Linked DNA regions of Homo sapiens: region 1 is linked to region 2. The links are contacts of gene promoters, found by promoter capture Hi-C in blood cells and fetal thymus (Javierre and others, 2016). All regions are on one chromosome and are shown on one strand. The core of a region is centred on a gene start or on the middle of the fragment in contact, and the rest is flanking DNA. Distances in the headings are between cores, read along the strand shown. Region 1 holds the start of ZNF350 (zinc finger protein 350). Region 2 holds the start of ZNF543 (zinc finger protein 543).

Region 1 (7,705 bases), core at 3,318-5,817, 5.3 Mb before region 2:
AGAATTCTTGCCAAACAACTTTATGTCAGCTCACGGTTTGTTCCCTTTTGACTTTAAAACCTGTTTCTAACAAAATCCTAACAGAGCACTTAACCAAGGCAACCTGAAAGTATTTTCCCAGGCAGCTGTCCTCATTTTGGCTCAAGTAAACTCTTTAAAATTGTATTTTGTGCAGTTTCCTCTTTTAGGCTGACATAAACGATATCATTTAGAAGAACTCGAATATATTTTTAAAATTAGATTTACTGAGATAAATTTTAACAGTTTTAAATAAATGCAAAGATGTACTATAAAGATGGGCTGGAAAACAAAGCATTTTAAAAATGTCAAGTCTCCCAAATCTACAGATTCAATGAAATCACAGTCACAATCCCAAACTGATACTGAAAAGTTTAAATAGCTATAAACTTTTTTTTAAAGTTTGAAAAAAAAGTTAGAAGACTTGCCATATCAGTTATGAGGACTTATAAAGCTACTTTAATTAGGACAGCACAATATTAGTACAATAACAGGCAAATAGGACAAAGGAACAGAATAAAATCCTTATAAGCAGAATTAAGCACATATAGAGACTCAATGGCAATGATAGCACTACAGGGAAGTAGATAAAAGCTGTCTTTTCAATAAATGGAACTAAGGGCGCCGTGGCTCACGCCTGTAATCCTAGCACTTTGGGAAGCTGAGGAAGGTGTGGGGGAAAGAGAGATCAGACTGTTACTGTGTCTATATAGAAAGAGGAAGACATAAGAAACTCCATTTTAATCTGTACAAAGAAAAGTTCCTCTGTCTTGAGATACTGTTAATCTGTAACCCTAGCCCCAACCCTGTGCTCAGAAACGTGTGCTGTGTTGGCTCAAGGTTTAATGGATTTAGGGCTGTGCAGGACGTGCTTTGTTAAAATGTGTTTGCAGGCAGTATGCTTGGTAAAAGTCATCACCATTCTCCAGTCTCAAGTACCCAGGGACACAATGCACTGCGGAAGGCCGCAGGGACCTCTGCCCAAGAAAGCCTGGGTATTGTCCAAGGTTTCCTCCCACTGATACAGCCTGAGATATGGTCTCGTGGGAAGGGAAAAACCTGACCATCTCCCAGCCCAACACTCGTAAAGGGTCTGTGCTGAGGAGGATTAGTGAAAGAGGAAGACCTCTTTACAGTTAAAATAAGAGAAAGCCATCTGTCTCCTGCTCCTCCCTGGGAATGGAATGTCCCGGTATAAAACCCAATCATACATTCTATTTACTAAGATAGGAGAAAACCACCTTATAACTAAAGGTGAGACATACTGGCGGCAATACTACTCTTTACTACACTAAGATGTCTGTGTAAAGTCAAACATAAATCTGGCCTACGTACACATCAAGGCACAGGACCTTTCCTTAAACTTATTTATAACACAGAGTCCTTTACTCACATGTTTTCCTACTGACCCTCTCCCCACCATTACCCTATAGTCCTGCCACACCCCCCTCACCAAGATGGTAAAAATAGTAATCAATAAATACTAACAAAACTCAGAGACCAGTGCCGGTGTGGGTCCCCCATATGCTGAACACCAGTCCCCTGGGCCCACTTTTCTTCCTCTGTACTTTCTCTCTGTGTCTGATTTCTTTTCTCAGTCTCTCATTTCCACCTTGCAAAAAATACCCACAGGTGTGGAGGGGCAGGCCCCCTTCAGGCAGGTGGACCACTTGAGCCAGAGTTGGAGACCAGCCTGGCCATCATGGTGAAACCCCATCTCTACTAAAAATACAAAAATTAGCCAGGCAAGGTGGCACCTGCTGGTAATTCCAGCTACTCGGGAGGCCGTGGCACAAGAATCACTTGAGCCCAGAAGGCAGAGGTTGCAGTTGAGCCAAGCACGCCACTACACTCCAGCCTGGGCGACGAGAGCAAGACTCTATCTAAAAAAATTAAAAAAAAAAAAAAAAATCAATAAATGGTACTGGGGATGGGGACAGAAAGTTAAAACCCCCCTCACAACATACACAAAAACCATTTTAGAATCAACTGTCAATTTCAATGGTAGAAACATATCAATAAAGCTTTAAAGAACATTAATATAGGAGAATCTCTCAATGTTATTAGGGTATGGCCAGATATTTTAAAGAGGCCACATAAAGCACCCTATAAAGCAAACTATATCCTGCTAGGGGAACTGTAAGTGGTACAACCACTTTAGAAAACAGTTTGACATCTATTTAGACGGAGTTTATACACACTCTATGAAGCAGCAATTTTCCTCCGAGGTGCACATCTAGATATACATCTCTGCCTCCCCCATATGAGAGCACATATGAACCAAAAGACATTTACACAAATTTTCACACATGCATTATTCTTAATAATACAAGCTTTAGGTAATACAAATGTAATTAATAATAGAAAAAACTGCTATATTTTACATAATGGAATGTGATAGAAAACCTATTATACCTTTGGTCCAGCCTGCAAGAATGCTTTTTACATTTTTGAAAGACTGTAAAACAAAAAGCAAATTAGCATATGCAAGAGACCATATGTAGCCTGCAAGCCCTAAAATATTTACTGTAAATTCGCCTGATCCTTGTCATTGAGCAAAGAAAATATACTCAGATGCAACAGGAAAGACCCTCACCAATAATGAGCAAAAGAAGGCTGACACAAAAAAAGAGTGATGTACAATTCCACTGATATACAGAGTTTAAAATAGGCAAAACTGTATTAACTACAATGATAAATAATGATTAATTATATAAAGAAAAGCCTAAAATACTTTTCGGTGTGAGAATGGAAAAAGACTCACAGAACACCACTGGTGTGCTGACCATATTCTATTTCTTGACCTGGGCAATGACTGCTTATACATATATTGCCTCCATGATAATTAAATTGTACATTTAAAATATATAAATGTAGAAAAATTAACAAAGTAAAGGAAGAGATCAACCATACCAAACAGTTTACCTCCAGGAAAGGTGTTAACTCCAGACAACACAACGGGTGAATTTTACAGGTGGGTAATAAAACAAGAACGTCCACTAACACCCTATTTTCCTACTTTATACTGGAAAGTTGAGCCAATGCATTAAGATAAGAATGAATTATAAGCATTACAAAGTAAGACAGAAAATTAATGTTATTTTCAGGCGATATCATCACGAACATGGAAAAAGAGATTCAAGAAATTACATATTTAAAAAAGAAAATGCTCCCTCAGAAACTCCCAGGCAGATTTTCACATACATAGTTGGCTAGAATTGCACCATACGCCTAAGCTCATTTCCATGTCAAACCTATCACTAGCAATGGCAATTGGAACCAGCAAGATTGGCTAAGACCAACAAGGCCTTACTAAGAAACTGGGATTTGGGTCGCCTTGCCACAGGGATGAATACTTCACGAAATGGAGATTCTGTTAAGAAAGTGTGAATATAAGGCGGGCAAGCAACACTCACTATATATTAAGAAGTGAAGGCCGGGCGCGGTGGCTCACGCCTGTAATCCCAGCACTTTGGAAAGCCAAGGTGGGCGGATCACCTGAGGTCAGGAGTTCGAGACCAACCTGCCCAACGTGGTAAAACCCTGTCTCTACTAAAAATACAAAAACTAGCCGGGCGTGGTGGCGTGGGCCTGTAGTCCCAGCTACTCAGGAGGCTGAGGCAGGAGAATCGCTTGAACCCGGGAGGCGGAGATTGCAGTGAGCCGAGATCGCGCCATTGCACTCCAGTCTGGGAGACAAAAGTGAAACTCCGTCTCAAAAAATAAAAAAAATAAATAAAAAATAAAAGAAGTGAATGCAGAGGTTGGCAACATTTTCGATTTTGCCGGCCACGAGGTCTCTGTCACAACAACTCAACCGCTGCCTTTGCAGCCATAGACAATATATAATCGGAGGGTATGACTGAACTTGACCCCCCGATCTGTAAATAGCCACCCCAAGGATCAGAAGAGTAGATATATGGTTTCGAACTAATGCTGGGGGCTGTGTCGCCTTTTGCCCCAGTAACCGAGGTTCGAACCTCAACCCAGGACCCAGGGCTCCAAAGTCTCGAAAGCTTCAGCCCTCACAAGCCTTTGTACCACAGACACTGGCCCCATGCCTCTTACTCATCCGAACCACGGACCAGACACTCTACAGCGATGGACATCCTCCCAGACTCCAACATCACTGAGTTCCAAATTAAATCCTGAACCCGAAGCAGACGCCGCATCGATCCTAATCGCCACCTCCATCCTTTACAAGCAGAGTGATCCATACCTTGACAGTTAGGACACGGCCGTTGATCACTACAGACCCTTAGTCACTGTACTCACACCAAAGGCACGCGGACCACAGACAGGGGGATCACAGACTCCCACCAGGTACCTCCCAAATGCCTATACCCCGGCGCTCCCCAGTCTTCCTGCCAAAAACTATGTGGTCCAGGGTACACCACGTCCTCAGATCTCCCAAACCTTCCACTGAGACAAAACCTGAACTAGGACAAAAAACTTTCAGGGACAAAACCACACACTGACCTCTATTTTCTCCAGATACACAAGAAGGGCCTCAACGTTACACTTCCGTAAACTGCTCCTACTTCTGGAGTCCTCGCACGGGTTTATGGTCCACCTACGGCGGCCGAGGAGAACCTAAAATGTTTAAAAGAGCAAGGACAAGCGCATTTACGGCATTTCCTACTCTGTAAAATGGCCGCGCCCATAGCCGTGGCTCCTGACGGCAGCCATGTTTGAAAATTGGACGCACAGAAGGCAGTGGCAGGTTTTTGAGCCAGGAGCCAGGGAAGAAGAGAAGTCACTGAAATCGCCTCGTTTCCTGGCACTTAAAGTCTTGCGAAAGGGGGCAGATTTTCAGAGACTCAGGCTTTATCAGGCAAATATGGGGCAAGCTAAATTGCCTTTAGCGCTTTTCCATCCACTTTGTTAAATTTAAAAAAAAAGGTTTTGAAAAAGACAAGTAACAGTGCAGCCAGGTGTAGGTATCCCAGAGAATGAATTGGAAATGGAAAAGGTAACAGATCAGGTAGAAAGGGAAAAGGCAACACATCAGGTAGGCAGACACCCACGGGAAAGCGTCTGGCGAAAATTAGCTTGCAGGAAGCGGTTTTTAAGAACAGAAAAATAGCAGGTATTCGGGGGGGCGGGTGGTGAAGAAAGAAAAAAATTATAATTTTTTTTGAGACGGAGTCTTGCTCTGTCGCCAGGCTGGAGTGCAGTGGCGAGATCTGGGCTCACTGCAACCTCTGCCTCCCTGGTTCAAGCGATTCTCCTGCCTTAGCCTCCCAAGTAGCTGGGACTACAGGCACGCGCCACCACGCCCAGCTAATTTTTGTATTTTTAGTAGAGACTGGCTTTCACCATGTTGGCCAAGATGATCTCGACCTCCTGACCTCGTGATCTGCCTGTCTCGGCCTCCCAAAGTGCTGGGATTACAGGTGTGAGCCACCGCGCCTGGCCTCGAAAAAATGATTATTATTTACAAAAAAGAAGAAGAAGAAGGAGGAAGAGGAGGAGGAGAAGGAAGAGAAAAGAGGAGAAAAGAAGAGAAAAGAGGAGAGGAGAGGAGAGAAAAGAGATTTTGAGAATGAATTACGATGTGAGCCTGGCCACGACAGACTAAAGGAATTGGGCCTCCTAGAAAGGCCACTTTTAGTAAAGGTGCCAATGGGAAGAGCAGAGCCAGAATTGAGAGTATAAAAATATTGTTAAGAGTTTTTGACAAAAGTGCCAAGACAATTCAATAAGAATAGTCTTTTCAACAAGCGGCACTGGGATAATTGGATATCCACATCCAGAAAAATGAGTTAGGACCCTCAAACCATACACAAAAGTTAACTCAAAATAGATCATAGATCTAAGTTTAAGAGAAAGTATAAAACTTAGAGAAGGAAAAGGGAGATAATCCTCATGGACGTGAGTTAATTCTGAGAGGAGAGTAAAGGATGACCCACAAAACAAAATAAAATTAATAAAGTGGACTTGATTTTTTTTTAAGTTTGTGCTTCTAAACACAACATTTAAGAAAGTGAAGTGGGGCACGGTGGCTCACACCTGTAATCCCAGCACTTTGGGAGGCCGAGGCAGGCGGATCATCTGAGGTCAGGAGTTCCAGACCAGCCTGGCCAACAAAGCGAAACCAGTCTCTACTAAAAATACAAAAATTACCCGGACGCGGTGGCGCGCGCCTGTAATCCCAGCTACTCGGGAGCCTGAGGCAGGAGAATCGCTTGAATCCGGGAGGCGGAGGTTGCAGTAAGCCGAGATCGCGCCACTGCACCCCAGCCTGGGCGACAGAGCAAGACTCCTCGGTAAAGACACCACTTCGTCACCCTGAATTACTCTGATTTTTATGGGTACAATGAGAATAGTGGACCTAGGAAGAAAAAGTTTTTAAATAGAAACCTTCAGGACAGATTTGGACTTGAAAGACTGACAGGAAGTGTTTCCAGCATCCAGTTAGTCTCAAAGCAACCACTAACCTTCAACTGCACACCTGAAAGCCTCCAGCCTCATTACATTCTCAAACACAGACAAGCCCCGTCTTCCTCTAAATAAAATTGCCTTCAAATTCAATTTAAAACTTACCACAGAGGCACTCCTTTGACACTCCTCCCCCTAGACCTTTCATTCACGCCACTCCTCTTCCTAGCTCGGGCTTCTCTGTATCTGAGCCCCATATTAAATTGCAAATCTGAGCAAAAAACAGCATTCACTGAGACACACTTTCCCCAGTTTTCTATTACTGAGACTCATGAAAAGTGAACATATAGACCTCAAGCTCTGTCCGTGGGACCCTCAGTCATTAAACTCTTAAAACTAAGCCTTAACCTTTGACATCCCAAGGGTCTCTTTCTCACACCCATATTCCTCGGTGACTAAACTGAAATAAAACCCCTGAACACGGACATTCACATGCGTTTCCACTTCATGGTCGTCCCCACAAGCTCCCCATCCGGATTCACACGCAGCATCAGGCTTTCAAGGCTACAGTAGCAGCTGCCAAAGGCTGAACACGTATCAGAACCTACTTCCGATTCTGGAATTCTGGTGCTGCAACCCCATCCTTCGCCATCTCTAAGAACACCGAGAGACTGGGAGGCGGGCTTCCGGAGAGGGATATGGGACATTTCCCAAAGTCCAGGTTCTGGCTTTGAACATTTTATATGAGGTAACATAGCTGTTTTACCTCATAGAGCATATTATGTCATTTCTGATGGGAGTGACCGTAGATTATTAGTGGAGTGATAGACACGCACATCAACAGAATAGAGTCAAGAAATGGACACAAGAACAGGCAACTGATTTTTACAAATGTTCAAAATCAATTTAATGGAAAGAGGACAGTGTTTTCAATACTGTTGAATCAACTGGGCAACCATAGGCTGAACTTTAAATTAACCCTTACCCTATATACAAAGATGAATTTAAATGGATATTGCTAAATATTAAAAAGCAAAACTGGCTGGGCGTGGTGTCTCACGCCTGCAATCCCAGCACTTTGGGAGGCTGAGGTGGCCAGATCACGAGGTCAGGAGATCAAGACCATCTTGGCCAACATGGTGAAACCCCGTCTCTACTAAAAATACAAAAATTAGCTGAGCATGCCGGTGCGTGCCTGTAATCCTAGCTACTTGGGAGGCTGAGGCAGGAGAATCACCTAAACCCAGGAGGCGGAGGTTGCAGTGAGCCAAGATCATGCCATTGAACTCCAGCCTGGGTGAGAGAG
Region 2 (7,774 bases), core at 584-3,083:
CAGGCCAAGGCTCAGCTGAGCACTCCTGAGCTGCATGCTGTAAACCTGGGTAGAGGGGATTAAGCCCTTGGCTTTGTTCTCTGGCTGCTTGGGGTGAAGCACCTGCTGTGCTAGAGGGGCTGAGGTGTTCTCAGTCTGCTGGCAAAAGTGCTCCAGCAGAGCATTGTGGGGACTGCAGAGAGTGCACTGTGGCTGGGGGATGGGGAGGCCACAGGCAAGTGTGCACCACTTGGGCAGTAGAGGGGGGCTACCTGCAAGTGTGTGCCAATGGGGTGGCATGGCTGTGGTGTAGGTGAGTGAAGCACCATGGTGTGAGGGGTCCCCGGCAATGCCTCCCACCTTTTTGAATCTCCAGTGTCTATTATTCCACTATTTCCATATGTATACATCATTTAGCTACCACTTATAAGTGATAACATGCAGTATTTGACTTTGTTTCTGAATTATTTCACTTAAGAGAATGGCCCCCCAGTTCCAGCCATATTGCTGCAAAAGCCATGATTTTTTTTAATGACTGAGTAGTATTCCATGGAGTGTATATATATATACACATATATACATATACATACATATATATACATATATATACATATACATACATATATACATATATACATATACATACATATATATACATATATATACATATACATACATATATATACATATATATACATATACATACATATATATACATATACATACATATATATACATATATATACATATACATACATATATACACATATATATACATATACATACATATATACATATATATACATATACATACATATATACATATATATACATATACATACATATATACATATACATACATATATATACATATATACATATACATACATATATATACATATATATATCGCATTTTCTTTATCCAATCATCTGTCGATGGACACTTAGGTTGATTCTATGACTTTGCTACTGTGAATAGTGCTACAGTAAGCATGTAAGTACAGGCATCTTTTTGATATAGTGGTTTATTTTCCTTTAAGTAAATACCCAATAGTGGAATTGCCAGATCAAATGGCAGTTCTATTTTCAGTTCTTTGATAAATCTCCATACTGTTTTCCATAGAGGTTGTACTAATTTACATTCCCACCAATAGCATATAAGCGTTCCCTTTTCCTTGCATCCATACCAACATCTGTTGGTTTTTTACTTTTTAATAATAGCCACTCTGACCAGTATAAGATGGCATCTCAGTGTGTTTATGTGTGTGTGTTTTCTCTCATCATATCTCATTATAACCTCAAATTCCTGGGCTCAAGCAATCCTCTTGCTTCAGCCTCCCAGTGTCTAGGACTACAGGTGTACACCATCATGCCTTGCTCTTTTTTTTTTTTTTGGTAGATATAACATCTTACTATATTGCCCAGGGTGGTCTCAAACTCCTGACCTCAGCAATTATTTTGTGTTGGCATCCCAAAGCACTGAGATTACATATATGAGCTACCTCCCTAAAATAAGGGAAGTGAGCCAGAAGCTCTGGGCCCAGCCCATGATCTCAATCGGGGCGAATATCCCCGCCTCCTGACCTCAATTTTCCTAAGCTAGAAAGGACCTTTCGACCCTCCGACTTGTGCCCATAGTAAAGCGGCGGCCCTAAGACGACGCGGGGGTCCTTGTGCGCACTTAAATGGAGTCGGCTGCGCTTGGTGAGTTCCCACACCCGGTAGATGTGAGGGAAAAACTGCCTTACTCAGAAGGCACCACCCCTTGCGTCGGCCGCGGACTCTAGGCCAATGACGGGCCAGGACACGGGCGATTTCTGCGGGCCAGGGCGGCGGAGGTGGGACTTCCGCTTCGTCGCGTGACGTCATCTCCGTGAGCAGGATTGGCCCTGGAACAGTGTGGGGCCTGGACCGCTGGGTAGGCGCGTCCAGCGGCCTGAGCAGGGGAGGGTAATGAGGCTGTTACGCGCCTTCTCCGCATCTTGGCGGGAGCCTGACGCCCCGCTTCTTCCCTAACGGGGTGTTCCACCGGCGCCTGCCGAGGCCTAGGCCTCCGCAGCCGCCCTCCGTCTCCTCAGCCCCGACGCTGCGCCCGCTTTGTGCGCATTTTTCTCTGGGGAAACTGAGGCTCCGAGTGCGAAAGTCAGCCGAGGTCGCCCCGCCCAGGACAGAGAAGGGCTGGGGGTCGGCTGAGCCGCGGCATTCCCGGGCCCCGCTAGGGCTGCAGGGTCTCAGGATGGCAGCCTCGGCGCAGGTGAGTGGACGAGGTTTTGGCCTTGCTGCTGCTCTGCTACTTCTGGAGGCCTCGTGGGCAGGCAGAAGCCAAGACAGCCACAGGATGTTTCTTTGTCGCCGTCGTTTATTTAAGAGAAGTGGCCGTAGCTTGTCATTTCCTTTATCCGCAGTCCTGCAATAGTGTTGGCCTCCGACAGGTGCTCAGTCCTTGGTAGAAGGATGAATGATGCTTCCTTCATGGATCTCATCACACTTCCCTTAAATCCAACCTCCTCTGTTGCCTGCCAGCCCCTACCCCATCCACCTGGCCAACCACCCCTGACCTTGTCTCTCCATTTTTCCCTTGTCCTTTGCTCTTCAGAGCCACCAACCTGACCGTGCAGTCTTCTTCCTTTTTCCAGGCTTTCTCTTTGCACTTCCCTTTGCCTTGAACACTGCCCCTATAACTTCGCAGGGCCTCCCTCTCATATCTTTCTGGCCTCTGTCCAGATGTCACCTATTTGGAGGTGGCTTTCTTGGCAATTCCGGCTAAAGTGGCGCCTTACGCACTTGCCCATTTTTGGCAATGTGTGGCATTTTTGTATAGAGAATCTGACGATATTAAAGAAGCTTGCCGTTTGAGTTGGTCTAGGATGTTATGTGAACAAAGAGAAACGAAATAATTGCAAAGAGTGACAGCTGATCATAAAGAGTCCTTGCTGTGGGCTGATTGGCAGGCATTATTTAACCCTCAGCTCCTTTAATCCTGAACTCCTTAGAATTAGGTTCTCTTGTCCTCACTGTTTTACACAAGAGCAGCTGGAGGCTCACATAGGTTCAATTACCTGCCTTACATCACTGTAGCTCTTAAGTATCAGAAACTAACAACTGGTGTGTCTACCATCACAGCCTGTGTTTTTACCCTCTTCTTTGCCCGCAATGGTTAGGGAGGCCTGGGGGTGACACCTAAAGTAAACTTTGCAAGTTGAGCAGGCTTCCTTCTAGCAGGTGGTCTTGGACATGAGGAGTCATGGCATTTCATGCTGGTGGAACTGTGTGGACTAAAAAAAAATGGTTTATTGGTTGTTTAAGGAGTCCGCAGGGGACCCGTGTGGCTTCCACAGTGGTTTCCTGAGTGGTTTTCTCCTATACCAGCTGACACATGTCTTGGGACACAAGATTTTGTGGTCTTTTGCTAGATGTGCCTTCCTCCTTAGCCAGGACAGACATAGCCAGTCAGGGGCCCATGTTCTCATGGCTACAACCTGCTGTGTCCTCTGTGACTCTTGTTCCTTGCTCCTGAAGTATCCTGACCTCAGGGATACTTGTTGGTAGGACTCAAACAGGAAAAGGTAGTGATAGCTCGTTGTGGATTCTTCCTATGAGAATGGGCATCTGTGAGGCCCAGAAGTGTCCGAGGCAGCAGATGCAGGTCCAGGCCCTGCCACTTTTGAGGCAGGTGCCACCACCTCAGGTGACTCTTCTGTGAGGTAGGTGATTATGACTATGCTGCTCTGCCCAGGTCCATGAAAATATTTCAAGTGGCTAACCCCAGCACAGTGGCATGTGTCTGTATATCCAGCTTGGGAGGCTAAGGCAGGAGGATCATGAGTTCAAGCCCAACCTGGGCAAAATATTGAGACCCTGTCTCAAAAAAAAAAAAAAAAATCCTGAAAATATTTTCAGGGTGGCTCAAATGGATGTATTTCAATGTTTCCCATCCTCATTAACTGTGCATTAACTTTGCTAATGAAGGAGTGTCGGGTTGCATGATTAGAACATAGACCATAGGGCCCTGGGTTCAAATTCTGTCTCTCCTGATAAGAGATGTGACTTTGGGTAGACTAGTGGAGGTCCTGGACCTCAAGTCTCTGAGTGTGACATGGAGATGATGATGGTGAACTCAGGAGCTGTGGCCCTTTGCCCCAGTGTTTCCTTTACAGCTTTTCTTCAGATCTTTTGACTATTCTTGGTGAAGTGGAAAACCCTGTTGTGTTGACCTGGACATCAGGGCTCAGATAAATGAAATGAGATTTCCAAGGTCACATAGCAGGCTTGTGTTGATTTCAGGAATTTGGTTTTAAACCTCAGGAGTCTGACTCCTGAGCTGGGGACTTTTAGTCACTTTACCATGGCATGTAAAGCCATTAGCATGAGGCAGGCTCACAGGGAGGATCGGTAAGACTCAGGTGCTGTTCTTGTTGTTGTTGCTGGTGTTGTTTTTGTTATTATTCTTTCCCATTCCTCTGATGTCTCAGAGCACTTACTGTCTTGCCTCTCAGTCCCCTTAGGATTGTCCTAACCTTATTTCTGTGTGAAGTGGCTTTCTGCATAGGAGGCTTCTCTCTCTTCACTGCTGTAATTTTTTTTTTTTTTTTTGAGACGAGTCTCGCTCTGTCACCCAGGCTGGAGTACAGTGGCACGATCTCGGCTCACTGCAAGCTCCGCCTCCCGGGTTCACGCCATTCTCCTGCCTCAGCCTCCCGAGTAGCTGGGAATACAGGCGCCCGCCACCGCGCCCGGCTAATTTTTTTGTATTTTTAGCAGAGACGGGGTTTCACCATGTTAGCCAGGATGGTCTCGATCTCCTGACCTCGTGATCTGCCCTTCATGGCCCCCCAAAGTGCTGGGATTACAGGCGTGAGCCACCGCGCCTGACCGACACTGCTGTAATTTATCCAAGGCAATGTCCACATTCCCCTCATGCCTGGCACAGATCATGGCCCTCTAGAGATGCTTGGTGATTTGATTCTTGGGTCACTGCGCATCTTTTGCAGTGCTGAAGTGACAAGTTCTAGTTGTATTCCACAGTTCCAAGGGAAACACTACTATCTCTGTTTAATTTTCCAGGTGTCTGTGACCTTTGAGGATGTGGCTGTGACATTCACCCAGGAGGAGTGGGGACAGTTGGATGCAGCCCAGAGAACCTTGTATCAGGAGGTGATGCTGGAGACCTGCGGACTTCTCATGTCTCTGGGTAAGGCCCCTTCTGGTCCTGTGCTCCCTTAGGATTGAGTTCTCCTACTCATGTTCCCCTCTCTCCTCCACAGCCCACTTGTTCTGAGGCTCCTGGCACCACGCAGGGGTGTTCACCATTGGCTCTGAGCGTAGCACTTGGGAGACCAGGGTCTGGTGTCCAGGAGTCCACTCCCATCTCCACTGCTCATGATCCCTGTGTTCCTGGGCAAGTTAAGGAATCCCTCTGTGCCTCAGTTTTTCTCATGAATAAAAAGGGCCAGGCCAGGCACAGTGGCTCATGTCTGTAATCCCAGCACTTTGGGAGGCCGACGCGGACAAATCAGGAGGTCAGGAGTTTGAGACAAGCCTGGGCAACATGGTGAAATCCCGTCTCTACTAAAAATACAAAAAATTAGCCGGGTGTGATGGCGGGTGCCTGTAATCCCAGCTACTCAGGAGGCTGAGGCAGGAGAATCACTTGAACCCGGGAGGCGGAAGTTGCAGTGAGCTGAGATCTCATCACTACACTCCAGCCCAGGCGACAGTGTGAGAGAGACTCCGTCTGAAAAAAAAAAAAAAAAAAGGCCAATATAGTATTTGTTTCATAGGGCTAGTGTGAGGGCAAATGGTTCAGTAGAGTGTGTTGTGATAGGTGGCTGGGCGCAGGTTAGCAATTGTGACCTCTGTTGCTGTCACTATTGTCACTGCTGTCTAAATCATTGTCCTCATAATCAGCAGTATCACACTTGGACTCCGCAGTTTTTGGAACAACTTTGTATAGTTTTTTAGTTAAATTGGCCAGATGCTTTTGATGACTAGACTCAGGTGTACATTTTGGCTTGGCCATTCGCCATTTCCCAGATTTTGGCAAGTCACTTTATCTGCCTGAGCCTCGATCTCTTCATCTATAATGTGGTCCTGATTGCAGTACATTCTTAATGTGCATCCTGTGAAGAAATCCTAAAATAGAATTTTTCATGCAGGGACCATAGGAGTAGCAATGTAATGCTTTGCTTAGAATGTAAAAAAAAAGCCTTAGGTCAGTGAAGAAACTTACCTTTCTCCTGAATGGAGACTCAGTATCTCAAATATGTTATTTCTTTTCTAAACTAATGACTAAATTTAATTGAGTGTTTATAAAATACAATGCATTTAAATTGCTTGGCATATTCCCTAGGTTATAGTTACATTGTATAAATATCAGTTATTGACATACTATTAGGAGTAAAGTTCTATGGCCAGGTGGCATATTGATTAAGGACTTGGATTTGAGAGCCACAGCAGCAAAGTCTCTCCAAGAAGTGACATTTGAGCTGAGACCCAAAGAGTGAGTTGATTAGAAGGAGCAAGATAGAGGAGCAAGTAGTATTCCAAGTAGGCAGGCTGGCATGTGCAAAGGCCCTGAGGTGGTGAAGAGCATGATCCTGACAAAGCTGAAGGAAGGTCTGATTCCCCTTTTTCACTGCACTGTCATTGAACCCAGTGCCAAGCACATAGCAAAAATGAGTGAACATTTGCTTAGAGATGACTGATGAATCCCACCCTGTGTTTTTGTGGGTCCTACTGCCTGTGCCATTAACTTCTCCATAGAGTACTTATGTCTTTTACCCCCTTATATTTTGAAAAGTTTTGGGCTATATGTGCAGATCAGCTCATACAGTCTTAACCCTGAAGGAAATATATTATCTCACCTAATAAGCTTAGTGGTAAGGCTGGCTCCTGGGTTGGTGGGTGTCAAGCCAGTTGTCTTTCTTTGCTCCCACTTTCTTTTTTCTTTTTTGGAGACAGGGTCTCACTCTGTAACCCACACTGGAGTGCAGTGGTACGATCTCAGCTCACTGCAGCCTCACCTTCCAGTCTCAAGTGATCCTCCCACCTCAGTCTCCTAAGTAGCTGGGACCACGGGTGCATGACACCACACCCGGCTACTTTTTGTATTTTTAGTAGAGATGGGGTTTCACCATTTGCCCTAGCTGGTCTCAGACTCCCAAAGCGTTGGGATTACAAGCGTGAGCCACTGTGCCCAGCCTCTTTGCTCCCTCTTCTTGGTAAGGTTTTTAGGCAGGTTCCCTCACAGAATTCCCAGGATGCTGCATGGCAGCAGGAGTGGCAGCCTCCCTCATTTAGCCCTTCCTGAAAGAGAAGGTTTTTTCTCTCTTTGGAGTGGCTGGTATAGGTCACCTGCCTACCTCAGAGTACAGTTGATCAGGGTTGCCATTTGCAAGATGATGGAGACCAGGACTTTTCTACTGCCATGGGGACTAATTATAAAATCCCTTCAGAAAATTTGTCTTAACAGGGTTGAGATTTTTGTAGGATGGAGATTAAAAGTAATTGGTACTATCACACAGCCAGCACTACTGCTTACAGTCTTTGGGGCCCAATGAGGATGTTTTTTTTCTCTTTTTTTGAGACGGAGCTTCGCTCTTGTCGCCCAGGCTGGAGTGCAGTGGCATGATCTCGGTTCACTACAACCTCCGCCTCCTGGGTTCAGCCTCCCGAGTAGCTGGGACTACAGGTACCCGCCACCACACCTGGCTAACTTTTTGTATTTTTAGTAGAGATGGGGTTTCACCATGTTGGGCAGGCTGGTCTCGAACTCCTGACCTCAGGTGATCCACCT

Evidence for each region. Contacts are between HindIII fragments. The CHiCAGO score rates a contact against its expected background, and 5 or more counts as called.
Region 1: the fragment with the promoter of ZNF350 here is called in contact with the fragment with the promoter of ZNF543 in region 2 in 3 of 17 cell types (total CD4 T cells, non-activated CD4 T cells and naive CD4 T cells); the score reaches 12.3 in total CD4 T cells.

The regions. Positions count from the first base shown.
Region 1 is chr19:51,982,273-51,989,977 of GRCh38, forward strand. It overlaps ZNF350 (zinc finger protein 350), which reads right to left and starts at 4,568. Exons shown (of 5, transcript NM_021632.4): 1 at 4,498-4,568. RefSeq lists enhancers at 4,033-4,908, 4,495-4,734. The HindIII fragment of the contact is 6,623 bases long and covers 4,033-7,705 here.
Region 2 is chr19:57,318,639-57,326,412 of GRCh38, forward strand. ZNF543 (zinc finger protein 543) reads left to right here and starts at 1,834. Exons shown (of 4, transcript NM_213598.4): 1 at 1,834-2,233; 2 at 5,044-5,170. The coding sequence starts at 2,216. RefSeq lists enhancers at 210-727, 1,653-1,772, 1,783-1,932. The HindIII fragment of the contact is 3,609 bases long and covers 1-2,821 here.